Linked DNA regions of Homo sapiens: all the other regions are linked to region 3. Evidence: promoter capture Hi-C in 16 types of primary human blood cells and fetal thymus (Javierre and others, 2016). All regions are on one chromosome and are shown on one strand. Each heading gives the region's core, a stretch centred on a gene start or on the middle of the fragment in contact. The rest is flanking DNA. Distances are from core to core; before and after follow the strand shown. Region 1 holds the start of COL8A1 (collagen type VIII alpha 1 chain). Region 2 has its middle 4.3 kb from the start of GABRR3. Region 3 holds the start of DCBLD2 (discoidin, CUB and LCCL domain containing 2). Region 4 overlaps COL8A1 (collagen type VIII alpha 1 chain). Region 5 overlaps COL8A1 (collagen type VIII alpha 1 chain).

Region 1 (3,039 bases), core at 530-3,029, 740 kb before region 3:
TTGAATGTGCCACATACTTGGTCTGGCCTTGTCCCATACCTGTACTCTTGTCATGGTTGATTACCTATGTGCATCAGATATAAAGCAAGCAGTCTGCATTGTGGCATGAGATAAAAGGTATGTTAATATGCTCAGGTCACATACTATCTTGGCCAATAGTAATTTTATATAATTTGCTTAAAGGAAACTGCACTTCTTGCAATATTTTTTTCCAATGAAGAAAAATTTAACGTGACAGAAGCTTTATATATAACTCTTGCATTTGAGTAACAGCATTGAATCCTCTCCATCTCAAGCAGAACTTTTAAATATTTTTATTACTTTTGATATGCAAAAGCTAAGGAGAAATGGTTTGGAAGACCTAAGTTAAATTTCTAATGAGTCTTGTTTCTTTAATAGGGGAGAATTTCATACAGCTTCGGTGAGTTTTTTCTTTCCACATGAGATAATATAAACAAACAAAAAAATAAAAAAGTGAAACATTTCTCTTCTTACTTTAAGAACCTTAAGGGCTAAAAGAGTGGTTTGGTTTCCTGACTGGTACTTTTGGTTTGCCTTCTCTAAGTGGTCTTGAGCAATTCCCCAGAGGAAACATTTGAAGAGGGTTTTTCTCCCACTTGAGAGAGTTTCATCCCACACAACCCACAGAATTTGATGGCAAACTTCATGGACCAAGTGTCTGGTTTTACAGAAGTGGCTGTGGAGTATGTTTTTCCTTTCACAGGTGCACATTTATTCTACCTTAGGAATAAGAAGAGATCATTTTCTTTTAAAGAGGGTAGCTTAAACACTGAATATCTCTGATAATTGGATGCCAGTCAGGTAGGTTGTGATTTACTAAATGCGGGGGAAAAAAGGTGGAAAGAAGGATTAAAACTTCCAAAGCCTTTCTCGCTGATCTTTCTTTACAACCATCTGGTGTGCACAGAAGTATTGTATAATCTGGCCTGTATTATTCTCTTACTGTGAAACATATTGAAACACTTTATGTTTAGGTGTGTGTACAGAAATTCATGAAGTTCTTTTATACACTTTCTTAGTTCCATCGTAATTCTCATTTTAGGATGTCGTGAAAAGATAGCCTGGTGAGAGAGCACATTCTACCCTGGCTTGTGAATTTGGATTTGTTCCTTCCTATCTACCAGCCACCTGATTACTTACTGTCCCCGTGCAAAGGGCACCCGTTCACATCATTTTTTTCCAAGCGCTAAAACCTGGAAAGATATTTTTTTAAAGGACTCACAGAAGCTGTCTTGGGGGTTTGGAAAACATCACAAAATTGTTAGCAGACCTTTTGACTGTGCTATTTTTAGGAAGTTAACTGTGTTCTTTTAAAGTACATTTTTGACAATGGGACAACGTTTTCCTTGCCCCCACTGATGTGTGAAATATGTACAGTGAAAAACGTCAGTACAACACCCCAAACAGATACATTTTAACCTAAGCAACAGTCAGCAACAGGAGAAAAAGTGATTTAAAAAGAGAAAGGTTTCGCAATATTTATGCTGCTGTTTCTTCCCTGAAGGAGCTTTTATTTTACCATTCAAACAGAAGTTTGTTTTCAAACCAGTTGCTAGTTAAAGGAGCAGCGGATCGCGCATCCGTAAGAATCAGCTCTAACCAAACAGCAAACGCGTTGGCCAGAGGGTGACTTATTCCCCCATAGCAACCCCTGGTAGGTGAGCTGCCTGCAGAAGTGCTGTCTTACCTTGAGCACGTAAGATCAGGGAGAGAGGCTCGCTGGCTCCCACGGAGAGGATCGGGGAAGGGCTGTGATCCGCTGCTGGTAACATGCACTTGGCTTTTATGGGCAGGTGGGAGGAGCTGCTCCTCATAGTAGGTGGGCAGGGAAGGAGCGGCGGGCGGGCAGCCTCTGGAGGAGCTGGACACTCTTCTCTGGGGAGGGGCGGGCAGAGACTGGAGCCCGCAAGGCGGAGGAGAGACGACGGGGCGGGGGGAGGGGGAGCGCGGTCACAACGGAGGAAGGAGTGGAAAAGGGAGAGAGAGGGAGAAGGGAAAAAAGAGAGGGAACTAGAAATAGTGAAAGGGATCTTGACCACAGATGGGGAAAGGTGGGGGAGAAAATGAATAGCAGAGACAGAGAGAGAGAGAGTGTCTGGGAGGAAAGGGGAATCGGAGTATTTTCCGTTTTTGCATGACATTTTTTGGCAGAGGGAGTTGTGGGTGATTGTGACTTTTGAAGGTGTTTTCTGTGAATTTGGGAATTTGAAAAGCTACATAGCGGTCCGGGAGAACTGAAGGGTTTCTAAGCGAGGCAAGGGAGGTGAAGCTGGGCGTCCGGGCAGCAGAGCCAAAGTTCAGGGTGGACCCGGACCTGGAGCTGGAGGCACTGACATGGCCTGGAGCCAGGCAGCCCCCAGCCCTCAGCCCCGTCCCACCGCCCGCGGGTGAAAATCGCCCCATCCCTCTCCCTCCAGGCAAGGCTTATTTGACAAGGAAGTTCCTGCGCTGCCTGTCCTCTGAGCATCCAGAGGCCCCTTTTGAGACTTCGGCAGCATTAAAGTAAATCCAGCAACGGGGAGGATTCGCGTGGACTTGCTTGTGGAGACAGGAACCTCAGAACCAGCCTGGGTCTTCCAGCATCTGCTTATGTAACGTAGGATTTCAGAGCTCTCTGCCCTCTGGTTATTTTCGGTATTTAAAACACTCTCATTCCTAACAATCGGAAAACGTCTTGGTGCCACAGTTCTTTCTCAGTGTGTCTTAAACATTAAGAGAGGATTCAACCAACAAGTGGCTAAAGGATCAGTCTGAAATTACTAAGAAATGCATTCAGAGAAAGAAAAACAAGCTCCTTTCGCTGCTGAGTGGTGACTCACTTCCTAGCCCAAGCCTGATTTTTGCCACCAAAGGAATTAAAGCATTTTAAAAGAGAACCTGAGACTTGGGGTGGGAGATACAGTACCGGGAGGGGGAAAAGGCGGGAATGGGAGGGGGGAGGGATGGGTAGGCTGGAAATAATAAAGGAACGAACTTGTACTGAATATGTATATATGTACTTCATTCAGTGTTCACCGC
Region 2 (3,026 bases), core at 445-2,944, 860 kb after region 3:
GGTGGTGCATTGGTATGAAATTCTAACAGCTGCATCAGCTGAGGTCAGTGTCAGCAAATACTATGGGGGCACTTGATGGCAAAATTTGTGGGTGTCCATGGCAGCAGCAATAGTTTCTTGGGCCCTTCTGTTCTCCATTTCTCCCACAGATGGAGTCTTCTCTGAGAAATATGGGCATATTTCTCAATGGTACCAGGGCCCAGAAAGTAGGTGCATGCATAGCAGTGGCAGCACTGGAGCCCAGGGAGATATATTAATATTAGAGACAAAAAGGTCAGGTGGCAATGGAAATACAAAGGGCAGGAAAATGCAAAAGTAGCTCTGAAGCAAAAAACGAAGAAAGATTTTGAAAGGGAGTAATTAAAGATGACTCAAAATCTCAATCCTGGAAAACAGGGACCTTATTGGTAATCTTAATGAAATTCATAACATTGGAAGATCATACTACATTAATAAAGATGCATGAGATTGATAGCTGATATTAATTTTGTCAATTATGGTATCTTCAATGTATCAAACATTGTGCTAAACATACAGTCTCATAAATTCTGACTTTAACCTTAAAAGATAGGTCCTAGTATTATTCCTCTTAACTATATATAAAGTAACTGACTCAACAAAAAATCTTAGGTCATTTTCAATGTTCAGACAAGTAGTAAATGGAAGAATAGATGTTTGTACCCACAAAAACTGACACCAAATATCCCAATAAAGATTATCGCTATTGTCTCTTCTTAACCACTGTGTTTTATTGCTTCCTCAGGGGTCTCAAAAGTCACCTACATACATGTGCTTAATGAATACAGAAGAGGAAATTGAAGTCCAGGAAGTTTAAGAAACTTTTTAAAAATCATGCAGTAAGTACCATATCCAGTCCCAGAGCCATGTGCCCTAGTGTTTTATTTAGTGCCCTTTAGAAACTTTACTCATAACAGGTACTTCATTCTAATAGAAAGCTTATTTTTCTACAATGTTCACCTCTGTCTCTTACCGTTCCCACAAACAAAATGCTGTTCTTAGGTGTAGGTAAAAAGTGAAATCTTAAAAATAAATTAGTGTTCAATCAGAGAAACCAATAAACCTCATTAGTCAATTATTCGAGGTAAATAATTGCATTTTCCTCAATAACGGGGTGTGTGGGTTTTTTATCTGAATCATTTGGTATTATATCATTAATCTTTTCAGTTCATTCTGCCAGTATTGGTAAGTGAAAATTATTCACTACAAGTGCTGAATAATTTGCATTTACCAATACTACATAAGAAAGTTTTCCTAAGGAGGCAAATTCGAGACAATAGTAATTTGGATGAGAATGTGTATCCTATGCTTCCATCTAGTGGTGGTCTTGCGCTATTACACGATGATGAAGACTGCTTTGCTTTAGTGTCATCCTCTTGCCTGTAAAACAGAGCAAGATTCTTCAGGTGTCCTCACTCGTATCACAGCTGATTCTGTATGCCAGGAAGGATGTGATAAGAGACTGAAACAAGGGTCGTGGGGGGGACGATGGTCTACTGGGTATGAAAAAACGATGATCTACTGGTTATCTGGTAATTCTGGGAACTGGAGAGGAAACAGGATTTCTGAGTGAGAGCAGGGTTTTTTGGAAGGATAGCAAATGCCCCCTACTGGCTGCTCTAGGCATGGCCAGTTATATTTCCAATGCATCAAAGCAAAACAGTTACGCGCAATTTGATGACGGGGACAAACTCAGAGAAATGCGTTGTTAGGTGATTTCCTCATTGTGCAAACATTGTAGAGTATACTTACACAAAACTCTATGGTCTAGCCTACTGCACACCTATGCTATATGATATTACTCCTAGGCCACAAACCTATACAGCACGTTATTATACCAAATACTATAGGCAATTGTAACACAATGGTACGTATTTGTGTATCTAAACATGTATAAACATAGACAAAATAGAAAAGGTTCAGTTAAAATGCAGTATAAAAGATGAATTGTATAGGGCACTTACCATGAATGGAGTTAACAGGACTGAAAGTTGTTCTGGGTGAGTTAGTGAGTTGTTCTGGGTGACTGAGTGTGAAAGCCCAAGACATGACTGTACACTACTGTCAACTGTACACTTAGGCTATACTAAATTTATACAAAATATTTTTCTTTCTTCAATAATAAATTAACCTTAGCTTATTGGAGAACTGCAGTCATATATGTGGTCCATCACTGACCAAAACGTCGTTGTGCAGCACATGACTGTAAATATGAAAACTAAATTAGTTGATCACTTAACCTCTCTAGTCCTAGCTTCCTCTGCATAAAAGAGAGCAGGAGAGACATTAAATGTAGTCTAAATGATTTCCAAAAGTCTTTCCCTATTAAGATTTTATGACTCTACAATTTGCAAATCAAGATATTTTGCCTAGATGACATCCTGCAGACACAGTGGGAAATTTATAGAAGCTTGGAATTTGTTGTTGTTGCTGTTGTCAGATCCAGTCTAAATAAGACCTTAGCTTTTCTTTTGTTTTCTCTTTATAGGCAAAATAATGGCTACATACCCCAAGATTGGCGACACAGCCATCCTTTCCAAATTTTCTCTTTATGTCGCTGCCAAAGAAATAAAAACTGGCTGACTGACATCATCAGAGTGGAAGAAGAGTAAACAGGAGACAATTTATGCAAGGGAGAGCTTAAACTACTACGAAATTCTCCAGTGACCCTGTGATTCATTTTGTTTCCTGGTAGTTACCACTTTCTAGTTCTGACAGATGTGCTTTTCTGCTTTTTTTTTTTTTCTTAAGAAGCTTACTGAGCTTGCAAAGGGAAGCTCTAAAGGAATAAGGTTAAGGAGCTAACTCAGCATCAACAGAGGCAGATGCCTTCTTGTAATTGAACTAAAACCCTTAGACTTTCTGTAAGTCAACTCTCTCTAGTGTAAGCCATTGCCTTATTTTTATTTTTATGCAGACCATTTCCCACTTAAAATTCATCATCAAAAAACAAACTGCTTTTATTTCTTCCTTAATGTTTATAGCGATATAGATAGTCTAGCAAAGAT
Region 3 (3,090 bases), core at 82-2,581:
ATTGTATAAGAAATATGCAGGGGAGTTGAAACATACGACCTCCAAAGTCCTTTCCAACTTAGACTTTCATTGAAGGATATCAGTCCCTTCCATGTTTTTGAATATCACATCTATGTATGACTATGTATACATATGTATATGTATACATGTATGGCTATGTATGACTCCCAGAGCCATAATTTCAAAGCTCTCAATCTGAGCTTTCGACTAAAATATCCATCTGCCTGTTACATAGCTTCACTTATTATCTAAGTTGGCATCTCAAATTCAATACGTCCAAAATTAACTTACTTTCCCACACAACTTGTTCCACCTTAGCAGTTTTTTGTATTTGCTAATGACACCATTGTCCTTTCAGGGACTGCTGTTAAAAACATCCTACATGGCCACTCTCTTCTAAAATAAATCACTGCGTAGACCTCTGCATTCCTCTTTCCTAAAATTCTTTTTGTCGTTCCATAGGCTTACAGTCTCCATCAAACTGCTTGTGACTCTAATTAGCACTTACTTCATTCTGACTTGCATGCTATATTTCCATCTCTGTTCCACATTTCAAGATTTCTGTAGATAGACAGCAGGTGCTCAACAACTCCTTGTAGAATGGCTGCATGAAGGTTGGGATGTTAGGTTTAAATTGCCTTTGCGGCACGGATCTTGTTTTACACTTTTTTGTCCCCCACCCCCCGCCATAAAAAGAGCAGAGAAAACAGGGAACACATATATTAAAAACTGAACACTGCATCTATTATTCTAACTCGGAGCTGTTGCAACAACTGGCGGCAGTTTTAACAAAACAAGCCACGCTCTGCCATTAAAAAAAAAAAAAAAGTCCCTTAGACTCAGCTCCCAGCTAAAACAACCCAGGATCCAGGTTTCCCACCCCCTTCCAGTGGTCTGATGTGCGTCGGAGGAGCGAGGAGAAAGGAGCAAGGAGCAAGCTGGGCCTGAGGAGCAGGGAGCGCGGGATGGGGGACGTCCCGGAAGTCACTGACGAGCTGGCTGCCGCCTCTGCGGGATCAGTTTGGGCTGAGGGCCCAACAATAACAGGCGCCCGGGCCGGGCGGGGGCCGCGGGGATCCGAAGCTGGAGGGCGGGACCTGGATTGGAGGAGGCGGGTGGGACGCCTCCAAAGGCCGAAGGGGATTGGAAGAGGGAGGTAAGGGGCGGTGGAGCTCGAGGAATGGGCCGGAGAACTAGCGGGTCGAGCGAGGAGCGAGCATGCTGATTGGGTTTCGCGGAAGGAGACGGACCAGAGCTGGCCGAGGATTGGCCGCGGTGCCTAGGGGGCGTGGCCGGCGCGCGCGAGAGGGAGCGCGAGGGAGCTGGCTGCGGGCCTGCCTGCCAGCTAGCCGGAGCCGCGGGTGAGCGCGGCGAGCGGCGACCCTGGTGAGGAGCGCGGCGCGGGAGGCACGTTCCTTAGCTCCGCCGCGGCCGTCCTCCGCGGCTCGAGGACTCCGCTTCCTTCCCTCCCCTCCCCTGCGCTCCGGCCTGGGGTCTCGGCGCGGGGAGCGGAGGGAAGGGACGAAGGAGGAGTAGGTGAAAGCGGGGTGAGGGGCGGAAGGGTCCCGGCGCGGGGTGAGGCGAGGGCTGCCTCTTGTTCTCCCGCCGCTGCCGCCGTCTCCTGGTCGGGTGCCGCGGCCAGAGGCGCGCGGGGCTGCCGAGGCACCCGCACTATGCAGGCAGACTGCCGGCCGCCGCGATGGCGAGCCGGGCGGTGGTGAGAGCCAGGCGCTGCCCGCAGTGTCCCCAAGTCCGGGCCGCGGCCGCCGCCCCCGCCTGGGCCGCGCTCCCCCTCTCCCGCTCCCTCCCTCCCTGCTCCAACTCCTCCTCCTTCTCCATGCCTCTGTTCCTCCTGCTCTTACTTGTCCTGCTCCTGCTGCTCGAGGACGCTGGAGCCCAGCAAGGTGAGTGGTCCCAGGGGAGTGAGCGGCGGGGGAACCTCCGTCGGGGCTGCGGGTCTCTTGGCCCCTGAACAAATCTGCAGACGCTGCAGGGAGGCGCGGTGCGCTTTCGTGCGTGGCCGGACCTGGCTGGGTACTCACGGGGTTGAGTTGCAAAGGCAAGGTCTTGCCCGTCTGTCCCCCAAGTTGGCGCGGCTTTACTTTTTGGCAAGGCCATTTATTTTTCTGAAAGGGGGACGTGAGACCCTGCTATGAAAGCCTCGTTGATATTAGGTCCTTCTGGGGAAAATTTTGGGGAGGAAAAAGAACCTTTGGAGGTAATGACCCCTAAAGTTAAGCTGCACGGATGGATGGACACTGTAGGAAGGCAGGTTAATTAAATAGCATCTTAAGCCTATTAAAGGTAAGTGGTGGTAATTATGATCCTTTGTGAAAGAGCCCGGGTTCTGAAGCGAATGGAATAGTTTCTGCTTATCTCTGAGTCTTGGATTCAGAACATGTTCTTTACAATCCATCATTGAGGCTGGTGGTCTAGACTGCCTTGGTCAAACACTGGGTCTGACCCAACGCTATGCTAATTTGCCCAAGTGAAGCTCTCCACATTAAAAAGGTAAGCCTTTCCAGAAAGTGACAAAACTTTTTTTTTTTTCCACCTACAATCCTTGAAAAACCTGTTCCAGAAACAGGCAAAACTGTTTATTAAATACTTATCATAATGGAAGGAGAATGCAGGGTGATTTCTTTTCCCCTTTAGTACTGTTTTCCCGTAGTGTACCACACTTTTTGAATCAGTTTGGCATCAGTTTTTGAAAAGATATTTCCATTGCATTTTCCATTTTATTGCAGTGGGAAGGATAAGGATTGGATTGTTACTTATTGCTAGGAAGAGAGTTTTTTAAAAAGAAAATTGTTCTCTGCCTTTAAGCCCAGCTTTATGTTGCTCTCATGGTTTTCAGTGAAGTATGGAATCATGGCCTGTCATTAAGAAGATGCCGAACCTTGACAGGCATGTGGAAATATAATCTCTGTAACTATAAGGAAAAAATGTATTTGGCAAACTGACCCCTTACATCTAGACACGTTTCTATATAGAGTAACTCAAAATTTAGATGCTTAGCATTTAGGTTTTAGTTAGATCGTCTTCTAAAATTACTGAACATCATCATCATTTAATATATTAAAGTGTGAA
Region 4 (3,360 bases), core at 516-3,015, 850 kb before region 3:
GGGAACAGATGTATCCCATTCAATTCCTTCTTCATTTCTCATTTTTATTTCTTTACTAGTTTTCATCCATAGGTACTCAATAGCTACGGCAGATAAAATGATGGTGATGGAAAAAAGGCCAGCCCTGAGCATGAGGTCAGAACTGATAAAGGTAAATGAACTGATATAAGTTTAAGTCAGGCTAGAATCTTAGACATGGATCTTAGAAGATTAGACAGAATTAATACGGCAGTCAAAAGAAGTCATCTTTTGGGGCTACCAGCCTGACAATTATGTAGTTATTTGTTTAACTTTTCAGGTCGGCAGTGCTCCCCAGCAAAGAGTATGAAGAATGGGTGAGAAATGTAGACCCCATAAAATCTGTAGGAACCTAAGATAAAAATCTGTTAATGCTTAGTCAATGTCATGAATGGTCAACAAGAGGTTAACTGTGACACCAGAGAAAGAGTGTATTAGACAAGAGTTGCACCCCGAGGAAGAAAAGTTTCTGCCAACATTTTTATTAGGTTTCACCTGACAAAATGAATTTTGATATAAAAACAAGTAGAAAGAAAAGATTCCTGTCTAATTTATTTTTCCCCTTTAAATTCAGCAATTTATTCAAGCTTTTCTTTATTCATTTCTTTATTCAACAAAGATTTGCTGAATGCCAACTATTTGCCAGGTGCAGTTCTAATTGCTGGGGATACAGCAAGAAGACAGAAAAGTCCCTGTCTTTCTAGAGTTTATATGCCATTAGAATTTCGTTTCTTCTTCATCTACAAAAATGACCATAGCTAATTCAGATCCATCAGAGAAGCTAAAATATTTAAAAGGAGCATTCTCTGTAAAAAGTAGGGACTGAAAAAGAAACCACATTTCCTTGGAATTTAGTGATCCTTCAGTTTTCTCTGCATATGGATCTTTACACTACTGTTTACATAGTTTTGGCTCTATGCTGGATTTACTGCTGATTTTGGCTAAGACGTTTGTATCCCCAAAGTGAGTGTTTTCTTGATCATGCTTAGGTGACGTGATGGTACTGTCCCCAAATCTTTGAGTCCAAGTTCAGCACAGCGTAGCTGCCTGGAAATTGAAGACCCTGGTTCCCATAAAAGAACCACTGGCTCAGAGACCAAGCACATTTCTTCCCATTTCTACTGTAACATTTATTTCTCAAGAGTATAAATCTCAGGCCGATATTTAACATTCTTTTTAACTGAACTGTGGACGTTTTCCTTGTACTTCTTGAAATAGTTAGGAGCTAAGCTTCTATTATTCATATTTATAAACATGTCCTAAACAGGAGGCATGATTTTATAATTCATGAGTCTTTGAAACTATTTTTACAAAGGAACACTTAGAAATATTACATCATATCAGGACCATGGTCTGGTTCAGAATTCTAAGAGTGGAATACTCCATGTGGCAGAATATAATTATTGCTATACATGGCTTATCCTAAAACAGGTGGTGACATTTTCTAAAGATTCTTGGACTAAAAGTCTTTTTCACTTTCAAAAATGAATTCTCAAATTGAGTTCACTGGTACAATTGGAGGATTATAAGATTCAGAAAATGATTCTACCCCAAGCTCCCCTATTTTGATAAATGGTATTCGTACTTATCTAGTTGCTCAGGCTCAAAGTGCAGGAGACATTCTCGATATCTCTTCTTCTCACACATCCAATCCATCTGCAAGTTTTATGATCTCTTTAATGAAAATGTATCCTGAGTCACTGGGCACCGATCATGTTTTGCCTGGACCAGTGCCTTACCTCCCTGTCTCCATTCATGTGCGGAGTCCAATCTCCTCAGAGAAACCAGAGTAATGATTTAAAGAAGTAGACCAGATCCTGTCACTCTGTTCAAAATCCACCTGTGGCTCCCCACCCCAGTTCATGTAAACTCTGAACTCCCCTCCACAGCCTGCAAGACCTAAGCGATCTGGCTCCGCTCTCTTCTTTGACACCATCTGCTCTTTAGTTACCAGGCTCTGGCCAGTGGTCTTCTTGCCATCTTGCAACAAGCCAAACTGGTTCTCAGCCTTGGGACTTCCCATTTGCCTGAACTGTCTTCCAGATCATTGTGTTGCATGGCCTTGCCTTCTTCAGATCTCAGATCACATGTCACCTCCTCAGAGTGGCTTGTGTTGACCATTCAATTTTAAACAGCATCCCTCATCCTATCATTCTCTATCCCTTTCCCTTATTTGATTTTTCTTCATGATCAACATGGTATTAAATATTTATTTATATTCACATTTATCAACTCTTCTCCAACTAGACAGAATGTAAGCTTTAAGGGTAGAATGGCATTTTTGCCCTCATTCACTGCTAAACTCCCCAACCTAAAACAGTGCCAGCCACATAGCAGATTCTCAACACATATTGGTTGAGTGAATTAATGGAGTGTTTACTATCCTTGAAGTCTAATTATTCATTTACTTCTACTATATTTGTATAAAGAACTTTTAAAAAACTCAACTATCAGAGGGAGTCATCTTATTTCAGGATTTGATTGTTAAACTATAATTGTGGGGCCAAGCATAGGCCTAATAACTAGGATATATGAACCCTCACTTATTTTTTCAAGTTGTTTAAAGTTTCTTTGCTTCAATTTCCTTTGTTTTTCTTTACACTTCTGTGTGTCAATATCTTTATTTCTCAAATGGTGTTGATAATAAGCTTATCTAGCCTAATTTTAGGGTTGCTTTGGTGACTAAATATGTGCAAATACTTGAAATGACATCAAGAAATCTACTAAAATGAGGTACTGATAGTTTACCCTACTGTATTTTAATTGTTACCCATTATTCCTCTGACTCTATGTTTATTTTTCCTTCATTACCATGAATTTGATGCCAGCAAGTCTTAGCATGTTACACATATACAGGTGCAAAGAAACCTAGTACTGTAGTACTTTGGTTTGATAACTCTGGTTTGGTCTATTGAGATAAATTATTTGGTAACTGAGATGTTTTAGATAAGGAGCTAAAAGGATTATCAGGGACCTGGTTTTTAAATCCAAGAAGATCTCTGGTAAGAGAAGGTTGGAGTGAGAGGGGGTTGAACCTCAATCCACTGGCAAATATGTGATCTTTCTGTAGGAGTTCTTTGGTGAGGACCCTTGGGAGGCAGAGAACAGGCAGGGATGCAGAGCTCAGGTGCACAGGCCAAGTACAGTATTCAGAAAAATAAAGGAAATGTGTATCTTTCTTATTGAGCTCTTTAATTCTCCCACAAACACCATGAGTGTTATTGTTTACTGCTAGCACTTATGGACGATAGACCAGGAGATCAAACCTCTTGTCCTGGCTTCTTTCACACATGAGAGACAATTTGAAAAAAAAAAACAGTATAGTTATTATCCATGATCTCC
Region 5 (3,466 bases), core at 574-3,073, 890 kb before region 3:
CTAAATACACTAACAAATCATTTTTTCCCTGGAAAAAATGAAGAAACAGTTGCTAGGCCCATTTTGGATTACTAAGATGAATATAATATGGCTGGTGGGCCTTACCATCAAGGAGTTTGTACTCTTAGTGGGGGTGACAGATGTGTAAACTGTTATTGAGTAGCAAAGGATATCTAGTAAAAAGTAAATTTTCCTCCTACTTCTGTTCTCCAGTATCTAAAATCCCTTATGTTTGAAGCAACAATTTTTCCTCATATTTTTCAGATAGTCTGTGGATATGCACATATCATATACATCCCTTTCAAACATAAATTGCAGTATACTATACACACTTCTATTTTTTGCTTTTTTCACTCAAAGATCAGTACTTATTCCTTGTCTAGTTATGTGCATCTAAACAAATTTCTTTAAGTTCTTCATTTATTAAAATATGACTTGGATGTTCCCTTAAGTCTTTTCTAGCTCTAACATTCAATGTCTGTAAGACAGTTACTAGAGATCTGAAAGTGTTAATCCATACCAGAAATGTGTGGTAATATCTGGTAATGTATAAGCTGGTACTTAATTCTACTTTTGGGGATGAATGAATTTAATTATGGAACCCCAGACTTGTGGTGAAGTCTTTAATAATAAGCTAGCATGTTTGGCCCTTCAGCCTTCCATCAATTCAGTGGATATGTTGGATTATACTTCATAATCTTTAAACCAGGACAATCTAATGAAATACTGGAAAACTGGAAGGAGATGAAATGCCTGGAAGAATACCAGTTGAATTATTTCCTCTCATAGGCTCAGCATATCTGTCCTGTAAACCAGCTCTTTAGGTCTGCCTTCTGCCATTTCTCTGGCTCTTTATCTAAATAAACTTTGTTCAGTTTTAACGTGAATATTTATATAAGGGCCCTGGTTAGAATTTACTGCTTTACTTATTCCTACTAATTTTTCTCCTGTCCCTGAGGATATTTTTGGTGGTCAAAGTGGTATGGGGGTTCTCCCAAATCACTCAAAAGAACATCAAATTTGGGTAACTTTATACAAACACCTGGCAAGAAAGAAGGAGCCTTGGAATTTTTGCTGGGAAGAAATTGTGATAGTGGGTTTTCATGCCTCTCTTTCTGAGAATGTGGGACACAATAATATTGTGAGTTCTCCTTAATATTTTCTTTGATTTCTATTTGTTTGACAGCTGGTGTGTGTGTGTGTGGGTGTGGGTGTGTGTGTGTGTGTGTATTTGTGTTCTTGAACATAAGCATATCTAATGTGTGTGAACATTGAATCTTTGCCAGCCAGGCTGGCTTAGTGATGGGTGTCATGTCATATGACAAAAGCACTGTCAAAGAAGTCAAAAGACTTTTATTTAAGTTTTGGCTCTGCCATTCTTCATGCCTATGACCTTGGACAAGTCCTTTATCTTCACTAAGCCTCAGTTTTCTTACCTGTAAAATAGCAATTATAATCTCTGCCCATCCCTCAGAGCTGTTCAGGGGTACAAATGATAATATGAATTCTTCATAAGCCAAAAAGGACTATTCAGATTTAAGTTATTATTAATGGAGTGTGACCAGAAAGACAAATCAAAACCAACTAAAATGTCAAAGATTTTCAAAGAAAGATACTAGCAAAGTAAATGTGAGGTTAACTGCAATAATGATAACCTAACATGAATAAAACAGTAATGGCCATTAAAATGCACTTGTTAAAAATGATTTAGAAAAAGAACAGCTGAACCAAGGCAGTCATTCATTCATGTGTCAAGAATAACCAATCCTAGATACTTTGAACAGCCCTAAATGGCTTCCTATATTTGAGCAGGGCTGCAGAGAATTTCAGATTCCTCATATGACCTGTAATGTACATAACAGAGTAATGTGATACATATATTAACAGAATAATGTGATAGATATTTTAAATGCTCATCAGCATTCTATTTGTACGTTTATCCTCATTGGCTTACTATACAGAAGAATGTTTAAATATTTAATCTGTTGGTCCTTGCCTTGAATCCAACTTTCCCTTTCACATAGGCTAACACAGCATGTCTTTGTGTATGTATGTGTGTCTCTGTTGTGTGTGGTGTGTATAAGCCTCTCTAATCAGTTCCTGGGCTGGTCCTCTGTGCCTCCTACTTGTACAAGATTTGTAGTCTCTCAAGACCCTCAGATTTGCCACCCTAAAGCAAGGGAAAGTCAGGCAGAATCCTCTTCCAGTGTTCACCAGAATTGCCTTCCTGGTTTTTCCATGCCTCTCAAAGAAAATTCTCTCTTGATTGCATTTCTCAGGGCAATTCATTCATTAGATATACCTATTGAACACCTATTGAACACTCAGAACAGGAAATGTTCTGAGTATTGGAGATACAGTGGTGAATTAGAGAGTGGAGGTATTATCTTATTGAACTCACAGTCTAGTGTGGAGAGACAGGTGATAAATGTTAAAAATACATTTTATAATTTGAGATTTGAGTGCTTTGAAAAAGCAATGCAGGTGTCTTAGTCATTAGGGCTGCTGTAGCAAAATACCATAGGTTGAGTGGTTTATAAAGAACAGCAATTTCTCAGTGTTCATGAGGCTGGGAAGTTCAAGATCAAGGTGCCAGCAGATTGGTTGTCTAGTGAAGACCCACTTTCTGGTTCATAGATGACACCATTTTGCTGTATCCTTACATGATAAAAGGGGCAAGGGAGCTCTCTGGAGTCTCTTTTATATGAGCACTAATTCTGTTCATGAGGACTTTGCACTCATGATCTAATTATCTCCCATAGGCCCCACCTCCTAATACCATCACTTTCGGAGGGGGGTGTCATATTTTAACATATGAATTTGGGGACATAAACATTCAATGTATAGCAGCAGGATAAAGGGTTCAATAATGACAGAGTGGAAGAGCTCCGATGTTTTGGAAAGAACGGTAGGGAATGACATCTGAGGAAGTAAATTTTGGATAGAGATGTGAAGGTTGAGAGATGTATCTTTCTTAAGACAACGTATGGGGAAAAAAGGAAAGAGTCCTGTTTACTACAATGTTAGTTGAAGGTACCTTTCACTAATATAGACTCATTTCAAAAGTATGTTCTTCATCCATGCCTGACCTCATTTTGAATTCTTTATTTACGATATTCTTTTTTCCTGGAAGATAATTATTTTCCTTTTATTTCTCTGTAGATTTCAGTCCTACCATATAGTTTTCTCTGGTTGTCATAACAAAGTATCTCAGACTGGGTGGCTCAATAGAAATTAATTTTCTCACAGTTCTAGAGACATTGAAGTTCAAGATCAAGATATTGGCAGAGTTGGATTCTGCTGGAGCCTCTCGCCTTGGCTTGTAGATGGCAGTCACCTCCCTGCGTCTTCACACAGTCTTTCTTCCATGTGTCTGTGTCCTAATTGCCTCTTCTTATTTACCAGCCACACTGGTCACCCTAGTGACCTCATTTTAACTTAATTTCCTCTTTAAAGGCCCTATTTT

Evidence for each region. The method cuts DNA at HindIII sites, captures the fragments that hold promoters and counts their contacts. A CHiCAGO score of 5 or more calls a contact.
Region 1: the fragment with the promoter of COL8A1 here is called in contact with the fragment with the promoter of DCBLD2 in region 3 in 2 of 17 cell types (total CD4 T cells and M0 macrophages); the score reaches 7.8 in total CD4 T cells.
Region 2: a contact is called between a fragment that was not itself captured here and the fragment with the promoter of DCBLD2 in region 3, in 8 of 17 cell types (activated CD4 T cells, monocytes, naive CD8 T cells and 5 more). The highest score is 8.2, in activated CD4 T cells.
Region 4: a fragment that was not itself captured here is called in contact with the fragment with the promoter of DCBLD2 in region 3 in 4 of 17 cell types (M1 macrophages, naive B cells, naive CD4 T cells and 1 more); the score reaches 7.2 in M1 macrophages.
Region 5: a fragment that was not itself captured here is called in contact with the fragment with the promoter of DCBLD2 in region 3 in 1 of 17 cell types (naive CD4 T cells); the score reaches 5.3 in naive CD4 T cells.

The regions. Positions count from the first base shown.
Region 1 is chr3:99,637,334-99,640,372 of GRCh38, reverse strand. COL8A1 (collagen type VIII alpha 1 chain) reads right to left here and starts at 1,779. Exons shown (of 4, transcript NM_020351.4): 1 at 1,709-1,779. LOC124909401 (a long non-coding RNA gene) reads left to right here and starts at 1,693. Exons shown (of 2, transcript XR_007095981.1): 1 at 1,693-1,786; 2 at 2,439-3,005. The HindIII fragment of the contact is 3,484 bases long and covers 244-3,039 here.
Region 2 is chr3:98,038,096-98,041,121 of GRCh38, reverse strand. No RefSeq gene overlaps it. Among named protein-coding and RNA genes, the nearest start is that of GABRR3, 4.3 kb to the right of the region's middle. RefSeq lists an enhancer at 1,483-1,777. The HindIII fragment of the contact is 1,472 bases long and covers 959-2,430 here.
Region 3 is chr3:98,899,936-98,903,025 of GRCh38, reverse strand. It overlaps DCBLD2 (discoidin, CUB and LCCL domain containing 2), which reads left to right and starts at 1,331. Exons shown (of 16, transcript NM_080927.4): 1 at 1,331-1,904. The coding sequence starts at 1,700. It overlaps LOC105374002 (a long non-coding RNA gene), which reads right to left and starts at 1,012. Exons shown (of 2, transcript NR_189121.1): 1 at 509-1,012. RefSeq lists silencers at 1,013-1,062, 1,203-1,892 and enhancers at 1,000-1,715, 1,716-2,432. The HindIII fragment of the contact is 5,361 bases long and covers 1-3,090 here.
Region 4 is chr3:99,754,407-99,757,766 of GRCh38, reverse strand. The region is part of intron 2 of COL8A1 (collagen type VIII alpha 1 chain); the gene reads right to left. Among named protein-coding and RNA genes, the nearest start is that of CMSS1, 62 kb to the left of the region's middle. The HindIII fragment of the contact is 1,029 bases long and covers 1,251-2,279 here.
Region 5 is chr3:99,785,621-99,789,086 of GRCh38, reverse strand. The region is part of intron 2 of COL8A1 (collagen type VIII alpha 1 chain); the gene reads right to left. Among named protein-coding and RNA genes, the nearest start is that of CMSS1, 31 kb to the left of the region's middle. The HindIII fragment of the contact is 3,668 bases long and covers 1-3,466 here.